3 separate regions of the Homo sapiens genome follow, and regions 2 and 3 are each linked to region 1. Evidence: promoter capture Hi-C in 16 types of primary human blood cells and fetal thymus (Javierre and others, 2016). All regions are on one chromosome and are shown on one strand. The core of a region is centred on a gene start or on the middle of the fragment in contact, and the rest is flanking DNA. Distances in the headings are between cores, read along the strand shown. Region 1 holds the start of CSNK2A3 (casein kinase 2 alpha 3). Region 2 overlaps GALNT18 (polypeptide N-acetylgalactosaminyltransferase 18). Region 3 overlaps GALNT18 (polypeptide N-acetylgalactosaminyltransferase 18).

What was found. The method cuts DNA at HindIII sites, captures the fragments that hold promoters and counts their contacts. A CHiCAGO score of 5 or more calls a contact.
Region 2: a fragment that was not itself captured here is called in contact with the fragment with the promoter of CSNK2A3 in region 1 in 1 of 17 cell types (endothelial precursors); the score reaches 7.4 in endothelial precursors.
Region 3: a contact is called between a fragment that was not itself captured here and the fragment with the promoter of CSNK2A3 in region 1, in 1 of 17 cell types (endothelial precursors). The highest score is 5.1, in endothelial precursors.

The regions. Positions count from the first base shown.
Region 1 is chr11:11,351,845-11,354,743 of GRCh38, reverse strand. CSNK2A3 (casein kinase 2 alpha 3) reads left to right here and starts at 1,494. Exons shown (of 1, transcript NM_001256686.2): 1 at 1,494-2,802. The coding sequence starts at 1,625. The coding sequence ends at 2,800. All of the region lies in intron 6 of GALNT18 (polypeptide N-acetylgalactosaminyltransferase 18), which reads left to right. The HindIII fragment of the contact is 3,495 bases long and covers 1,134-2,899 here.
Region 2 is chr11:11,591,386-11,594,284 of GRCh38, reverse strand. All of the region lies in intron 1 of GALNT18 (polypeptide N-acetylgalactosaminyltransferase 18), which reads left to right. Among named protein-coding and RNA genes, the nearest start is that of GALNT18-AS1, 23 kb to the right of the region's middle. The HindIII fragment of the contact is 1,200 bases long and covers 839-2,038 here.
Region 3 is chr11:11,571,274-11,574,172 of GRCh38, reverse strand. All of the region lies in intron 1 of GALNT18 (polypeptide N-acetylgalactosaminyltransferase 18), which reads left to right. GALNT18-AS1 (GALNT18 antisense RNA 1) reads right to left here. Exons shown (of 2, transcript XR_007062595.1): 2 at 396-648. Among named protein-coding and RNA genes, the nearest start is that of GALNT18-AS1, 2.8 kb to the right of the region's middle. The HindIII fragment of the contact is 1,874 bases long and covers 476-2,349 here.

The sequences.
Region 1 (2,899 bases), core at 245-2,744:
TATAAATCTTGAGCTCAGAGGAATGTAGTGTGTTTTCCCCTGTCCCGAAAAGCTGTGGTATAGCAATAGTGAATCTTATCATCAGTGGAATATTATAGTGATAATAATTATAGCTGATACTTAGGGGCCTCTAAACTTCTTCCAGGTGATGAAATAAACTGTCTCTGTGTATTACTTCATTTAATTCTCACAGCAACTATCTTTGGAATTTATCACTTTTATCTCCATTTCATAGACAAGGAAACTGAGTGTTGGAAGGTGAAGTGAATTGCCTAAAGTCACCAGTTCAGCAAATGGGAAATGTAGGACTTGACACCAAGACTGTTTGGCCCCAGAGGCTATGCTCTGAACCATAATGACTTCCTGTCTTCCAAAAGGCAGGCTCTTGGATCCATATCTTACTGTGCTTCTAAATTATCCTGTGACCCTGAACCTTAGTTTGCTCACCTGGGAAATGAAGGGAGGTCCTGGTTAGGTTCCCTTCAGTTCTACTCTATTGCAGTATGCTGATCTCTTTTGTAAATCTGTATTAAATGAGAGTTTGCTATCGGTGACTTTCAGAGATGACACCAGTGATGATGCCCATGCTGACGATTCATTCTGATGTCTATGAAAAGAGCAAATCCTTTAAGAGAAGATGTAGCATACCAGTGTTTATAATCTGAGTTTCATTTGATTAAGAGGGGAAGCTCTTTAGAACAAATATCATTTCTGAGCGAGAGAATGTTCAGCATCTCAGCCTCATTTGTATCATTTGATAAAAGGGCCCCACTGAGCCAAGTGTGAGGATGATGCTTGAGCCAGACACATAGACACCAGACATTCCTCTGATGTCTGCTCCCCAGGCTTGGCCACATTGCCTCCCACCAACCCCATCTCAATGACACATCCATTACCTGCCATCAGTTGGCTCTATGGTGCTGGGAATGACAGAGTGTATCTACCCTGGATTTCAGAAAGAACCCTCCTGGCTTATCATGGCAACACCCTTTGGACACTCGTTTAAAGAGTCCTTCTTTGGGCCAGTGTTATCCTTTTGGGGGCATCTGGTATGGACGGCCAATTTGAATCTGACTGGGACATGCTAATGAGCCATTCATATGTGTGGGATTTGTTTCTGATTCGATTAAGCTTCAGAGAGAGGAAAGAAACAGCCACTGATTAGAGACATAAAAAAAGAAATACTTTAAGTGAGTAAGTGGTTCATCTTCATATAGGAAAGTATAAATTAAACATGGTCCAGGAGATGTGCTTTGAATAGCAGCTGGATAGCACAAGCATGTCCACAAGGAGACGGTGCCTCACAGCAATTGAAAGGGACTTAACCCCCAAAAAGGGCTCTGAATATGCTGAGTAAATAGATGAGCCCAGTTAGCTGATAAAAATGACTCTCAGATTAGAGATGGGAAGGTTTTTATTTGGATTTTAGAAAATTGCTCCCCACTCCATCGCCGCCATATTGTCTGTGTGAGCAGAAGGGAGAGCGGCCACAGCCGCTGCCGCTTCCACCACAGTGTGAAGAAAACAGGTCTGAAACAAGGTCTTACCCCCAAGCTGCTTCTGAACACAGTGACTGCCAGATCTCCAAACATCAAGTCCAGCTTTGTCCGCCAACCTGTCTGACATGTCGGGACCCGTGCCAAGCAGGGCCAGAGTTTACACAGATGTTAATACACACAGACCTCGAGAATACTGGGATTACGAGTCACATGTGGTGGAATGGGGAAATCAAGATGACTACCAGCTGGTTCGAAAATTAGGCCGAGGTAAATACAGTGAAGTATTTGAAGCCATCAACATCACAAATAATGAAAAAGTTGTTGTTAAAATTCTCAAGCCAGTAAAAAAGAAGAAAATTAAGCGTGAAATAAAGATTTTGGAGAATTTGAGAGGAGGTCCCAACATCATCACACTGGCAGACATTGTAAAAGACCCTGTGTCACGAACCCCCGCCTTGGTTTTTGAACACGTAAACAACACAGACTTCAAGCAATTGTACCAGACGTTAACAGACTATGATATTCGATTTTACATGTATGAGATTCTGAAGGCCCTGGATTATTGTCACAGCATGGGAATTATGCACAGAGATGTCAAGCCCCATAATGTCATGATTGATCATGAGCACAGAAAGCTACGACTAATAGACTGGGGTTTGGCTGAGTTTTATCATCCTGGCCAAGAATATAATGTCCGAGTTGCTTCCCGATACTTCAAAGGTCCTGAGCTACTTGTAGACTATCAGATGTACGATTATAGTTTGGATATGTGGAGATTGGGTTGTATGCTGGCAAGTATGATCTTTCGGAAGGAGCCATTTTTCCATGGACGTGACAATTATGATCAGTTGGTGAGGATAGCCAAGTTTCTGGGGACAGAAGATTTATATGGCTATATTGACAAATACAACATTGAATTAGATCCACGTTTCAATGATATCTTGGGCAGACACTCTCGAAAGCGATGGGAACGCTTTGTCCACAGTGAAAATCAGCACCTTGTCAGCCCTGAGGCCTTGGATTTCCTGGACAAACTGCTGCGATATGACCACCAGTCACGGCTTACTGCAAGAGAGGCCATGGAGCACCCCTATTTCTACACTGTTGTGAAGGACCAGGCTCGAATGGGTTCATCTAGCATGCCAGGGGGCAGTACGCCCGTCAGCAGCGCCAATGTGATGTCAGGGATTTCTTCAGTGCCAACTCCTTCACCCCTTGGACCTCTGGCAGGCTCACCAGTGATTGCTGCTGCCAACCCCCTTGGGATGCCTGTTCCAGCTGCCACTGGCGCTCAGCAGTAACGGCCCTATCTGTCTCCTGATGCCTGAGCAGAGGTGGGGGAGTCCACCCCCTCCTTGATGCAGCTTGCGCCTGGCGGGGAGGGGTGAAACACTTCAGAA
Region 2 (2,899 bases), core at 189-2,688, 240 kb before region 1:
TTGTTAATGTGAAGAACTGACTCAGGCTAGAGCTTTTCCAACTTTAGTGGATGGAGGAAAGCATTTCTGCATTTAAGACTTCTGGAATGAGGTCCCTCTGGACAGGAAGCACAGATACCAATGAACTGTGGCCACCTGGACCTGACATTCTTCTAAAAAAATACTGTGCTTTCTCCTCTCTCTCATGTATAGATACACAAATGCACATACACAGAGTCTGGCACAGAGTGAAAACTACCTTCAATTCCAAAACGGAGAATCTACTATGTAGCCTAGCAAAGCAGAAAGGAGCTGAGAAGCAAGAGAAAAGCATCCTTCATCTAAATCTCTATGAATCCACAAAGTACAAACATGAAGACCAATTCTTTGAAAAGCCAAATGCAAGGCAGGGGAATCATATTCCAATGAGCATGAGGCTCATATGAAAATTTTATGTTCCAAGGGTCATCTTGGAACTTGACAGTGCAATTGAGAAAGGCTGGAAATTTTTATTTTATTTTACTTTATTTTATTGTTTTGTTAGAAATGGGGTCTTGCTGTGTTACCCAGGCTGGTCTCAAACTCCTGGCCTCAAGCCATTCTCCTGCCTCTGCCTCACACAGCACTGGGGTTAGGGGCATGAGCCACCATATTGGACTAAAGCCTGGAAATTTTTAAAGGGTGACAATCACTTATAAGAAGCCTCTGGAAATGGTAGAAAAAAAAATTAGATGTGGTCTGGCTATAAAGCATCTTGCTAACATTTGGACACGTGGACAAAAAGGAACAAAGTTCCTCACGCATCTTATAGCCCCTTTGTTAACATCAGTGTCTGTTTGCAGAGAAGGAAGGCCAAGCTTCATAGTACCTTTCAGAAACTGGGAAAACTGAGGAAAGGATTTAGTATGGGCTTCTCACCTCATAGATTTTTTTAGACTCATGAGCTGACAAAGTACCAAGAATGGCTTGAGACCCTCTATTCCAGGGTCCGCAAACTGAAATGCTAGGCAGGCAACGTAAATGGGTGGTATGGGTTTGTTATGATAGAACAGGGCACAGTTATAACCTGTAGAGAAGTAAAGACTGTACGTCTTGCCTAAAGGGAGCTGCATTGGACAGACTTAAAACGAAGCGGGAGGCCGAGGCGGGCGGATCACGAGGTCAGGATATCGAGACCATCCTGGCTAACACGGTGAAACCCCGTCTCCACTAAAAATACAAAAAATTAGCCGAGCGTTGGGGGGTGCCTGTAGTCCCAGCTACTCAGGAGGCTGAGGCAGGAGAATGGCGTGAACCCGAGAGGCGCAGCTTGCAGTGAGCTGAGATTGCGCCACTGCACTCCAGCCTGGGAGACAGAGACAAAAACAAAAAACAAACAGAAAAAAACAACGCGAAGCATGGGCGTCCTCTGTTCTGGTCTGACCCTTAGCATTTTATCTACAAGAAAGGTAACCAGAGGCCTTAAGAAGGAAATGACTTGGTTAAATTGACAGAATATCTTGCCTTCTCTTTATACTTTGAAGATATGTCAAAAAATTTTCAGTATGGGCCCCAGACTGCCTAATAAATCAGCCCCTTTCCTGTTTTTTGGCTTTTCAAAGAGTTGGAACTCCCAAATGTGCTTTGGGGAGTGGTGGGATTTTTACATGAAGGATGTTCCCACTGTTTCTCACCATCTTTCTGGTTTTCTAAGAAGGAATGGCGGTTTATACCCTTTTTCGTAACTGAAAGTTGTTTTGAGCTTGTGCCAGACCCAGGGCGTGTGCTGTGTGTGGGGGTAAGGTGAGGGAGCATGGTTCTGCCAGGGAGCCATGGTAGGAACTTGAGGGAGTGAACCCCTTATTTGGCTGGAGGTATTATTTGCCTGGAAAGTGGAGGACAGTTGCGGGAAGGATGAATTGCTCAAACATTATCTAGAAAACTCAGTCCACTTCCTTGCAGGAACAGCATGTCAATATGTTTTTGTCTGCTGGACAATGTGTGGGAAACATCTTTGATTTTTTTTCGTAACCGTGCATATAATTTCTTAGCATTTCACTTCCGGGCATTGATTAAAGCTTTTCTGTCTCTTTAGAGTCATTAAATAGAAAAACGCCTGCCAGAGACAGATTGATGATGTTTCTAGGGACTTGCTTAGAGAAATAGGAATCTCCTTAACTTGCTGAAAAGTTTTTCTGGTTTGTGCCAAATAGCTAGCATTTATTGAGTTTTATTACATGCCAGGTACCATGCTAAATGCTATGCACAAATTATCTCACTTTATCTTCACAGCAACAAACTGAGATATGCTATTATTATCCCCTTTTTCTATTATAAAATTGAGGCACAGAAACATTAAATCATGTATCTGAGGTCACTCAGTCAGCATGTGTTGGGATAGGAATTGACTCTATGTGGTCTGATCTTGAGGACTGTGTTACATCAAACTCAAAACCCTTAAATCTTCATAACATCTAATCACAGCTGGGTATTGGCTTTCAAGATTATAGGTGTGTTCTCAGGACCCAAATCTGATAATGTGTGTATTTTTGTCCCTTCAAAGGGTATGGGAGCACATCTGTATGGCTGGGCTCATTGTATTTCCATCTGGCACTAAAGAAAATGCACTTCTATTACTATCTCAGCCTCCTTTAACCACATACATTCACCCAGGAGGGAGCATTTCCATAAAGTTGTTTTAAAATGACAGCAGGACTCACTGGGGGGGCTGCTTTCCTTGTGGGCAGAATGACTGTAGTTGGAGATGTAAAGTAGGAAGAGAAATGGAGGCTGTTATGGTCTCCCTCCCCACTTGCCTATAAAATTGGAAGGATGTGATTGGAATAATTTGCATTTACAAATGAGGAGCCTGAGAAACATGGATGAGAAGGAACGCAGTGAGGCTCATCCAGTAAAGTCAACCATGAGCCAAGGACCGTGT
Region 3 (2,899 bases), core at 163-2,662, 220 kb before region 1:
TCACTCATGTACTGATAGAACTTCTTATGAGGCAGTATGTACCCTTCCTCTCCCATGGGGCATGGGGAGCCACATACCTACAATAATTGACTTGCCTAGATTGTCCTCTGATTGTTGAAAGATGCTACAGTGTCATGTGGAAAGCTCAGGCTCAGGGGCCTAGATTTGAATGTCAGCTCTTTCTCAGAGTAGTTAGGTGACCTTGGGCAGCCATCCTAATTTCTCTGAACTCTGCCTTCTATAATGAGATGTTGATAGAATGAATGACCCCTCAAAATGCACCAAATGAAGATGGTGCACAGAAAGCCCCAGCACAGTGCTCAGCACCCCGCCTTCTGCAGTGGGAAGGATCGCCGTCCAGCCTCGGGAAGTCACCGTCGACGCTCATGCATGGGCATCTTCCAAGTGGGTTTATTGAGACCATGATGAGGATACAATATAGGAGATAGGATATCCCCTTCCATCTCATGAAGCTTTTGGCTGGAGAGAAATTCTTTCTCTCCTCGGAGATCCTGCTGTTTTCTAAAGATTGGTTCATAGCAGCTTCTTGTTCTCCACCAGCCTCTTGCTGATCCAGCTGGCACCTCTTCCTGGGTGGATCAAGGCTCCTGCTATCCTTTCCCCTTTGCTGGGCATCAGGTTCTGCATCTGTAAAATAAGGAAAATAAGACCTAGTCTGGCATGGTTGCTGTAAAATTTTAATATCGTTTGTGAGCAAGTTCCTGGCACCAAGTAAGTGCTCAGTTAATTGTGGCTTTTCTCCTTGGCTTGGCTGATACTTAGGTGGGCACATGTACCTTAGTGTAAGAGAAGGAGCAGGCAGAAATCCCTTTTATTTCAGTCTGCCCAGCCTTCCCACAGGCACTGTGATGCTGCGGCCCCACCCGGGGACAGAGAGCTCCATCTTCAGTATTGAAAGCTGTGTGTAGGGAATCTCTGGGACATCCATGTCAAGTATGAGTCAAGGCCGCCCACCATAATGAACATGAACATGCTCTCTGGAGGGGCGCTGTAGTTCAGAAAGGCAGGGTTTTGGAACCAGTTCAATGTGAATTCAGACCCAGTGTCCACTCCTTGCTGGCCCTGGGTTACTTTCATTAGTATCTCTGAGACCCAGGTTTCTCATCTGTAAAATGGGCTAAGATAACGTCCTCCTTCATGGGACTACTGTGAGGACTAAGAGAAGTGACCACTTGAAAGAGTTTTGCACAGAGTAGGTGCTCAGTAAATGGTAGCACCCTCTCCTCTTTGTCAAATGTACAAATTTAAGGGGCCATTGTTTTAAGACTTCTCAATATTTTTGGTCTCCAGCCTTGGCAATTCAAAATGGCAACTCATGCCCCAGTTGGAGTTGTTACTGCCATTGTGTTTTTCTTCTTTCCTGTGAGCAGAAGCTGGCGCCTGCTTCTGCATCCTAATAGTTGGCAGGAAGGCGAGGGTTGCGAGGGCCATCTGTTCCTTGTCTTCCTCAGAAGGGCACCGGGCAGCCATGTTGAATGTTCAGGGGTCCTCCTGCACCATTGCTCTGTGTAGAACTTCACATCCCAATGCTGTCAGAGAGGGACATAGCAGGAAAGCTGAATCTAAGACAGCTTCTCACACAGACACAGCACTGGCCAGGAGCGACTGTAGCGGAGCCAGGGCCCTGACTCATGCCCAAGTTCACATCCCAAGCTGGGTGTCTTTGGATTAGCTGCCTAAACTCTGTCTCGGTTATTTACCTTTAAAACAGAAATAGCAACAGTAACACACTCATACAATTTTCATGAAGACTAAGTTATTCAGGCAAAGTGCTTCATCTGGTGCTGACAGTTGATAAATGTTAATTCTTGTTATTATTTTACTCATACCACCTCCCTTGATCCCTGAAAGCCACCCAAGGAGCAAGCAGGCCGTGTATTTGTGTACCCCTCTTCTAGATAAAGAAACTGAGGCCGAGTGGTTACGTGGTCAAGGATCCCACAGAAAGGAGTGGCTAGGCCTGGATCCCGGCAAGACACTACATGCCAACAGCATCCACACCACTACTCGATGATGCCCACGCCCTGCGGCACAGGCCTGCTTGCACAGGGAGAGCTGGAGAACCAGGAAAATACAGAGTCCTGTGCCACACCTCAGATCTGCTGAATCATGCTCTTCAGTGGGGGAGCCTGGAAATCTGTATTTGTAAAGTGCTTCCCAGGGAATTCCTATGCCCAGTTAGTGTGGGGTCTGTGGTCTACACTGCTGGGCATACAGCTCACTGTGTTTCCCCAGGGCAGAGGGACAGGAAAGGGACTCTGGAATGAATAAACACCTTCACAGTCTGTAGCCAGGCAGATACTGTCGTCAGTAAGTTTTAGAGAAGCTTGTGGAAATGCAGACATAGGGTCACTTTAACACACACCAATTTTTTTTTCCAGGTCATTGGATATCTTTCTAGATAAAATAACCTCATTACGTGTTATGGGATTTGTGGAGAAAGTCTATTTAAATAGGATTGAAACATCCTTTGTCAAAATATTCTTGTCAATTAGCCTGGACATGGCTAATTGACAAGAGGTGGCCAAAGCCAGCTCAGCCCATTGCAAGGGCTCCTGGACATGCGGTTGATCTGCACAGTGGGCCTCACTGCCCAGGAAGAGGCATGTCCCACCAGAAAGCTGGTGTTCACTGGGAACTCTGACTTTGATCTGACCTAGTCATTAGAGGACTAGAGCCTTGGGGGGCTTCTGGAAGCACAGGCACCCGGACTCAGAGAGCAGAGCTAATTTTGAAGAGTTAGATTTATCACCAAATAACCTCATTTCCCAGCCTGCTGAGACACCTATTGCAGACTCATTGGTTTTCTGTTTCCACCACACAAAGTCAGGGGTTGATTCTCCAAAGACATGCCCTTGGGACCTTTTCCTTTTGTGTC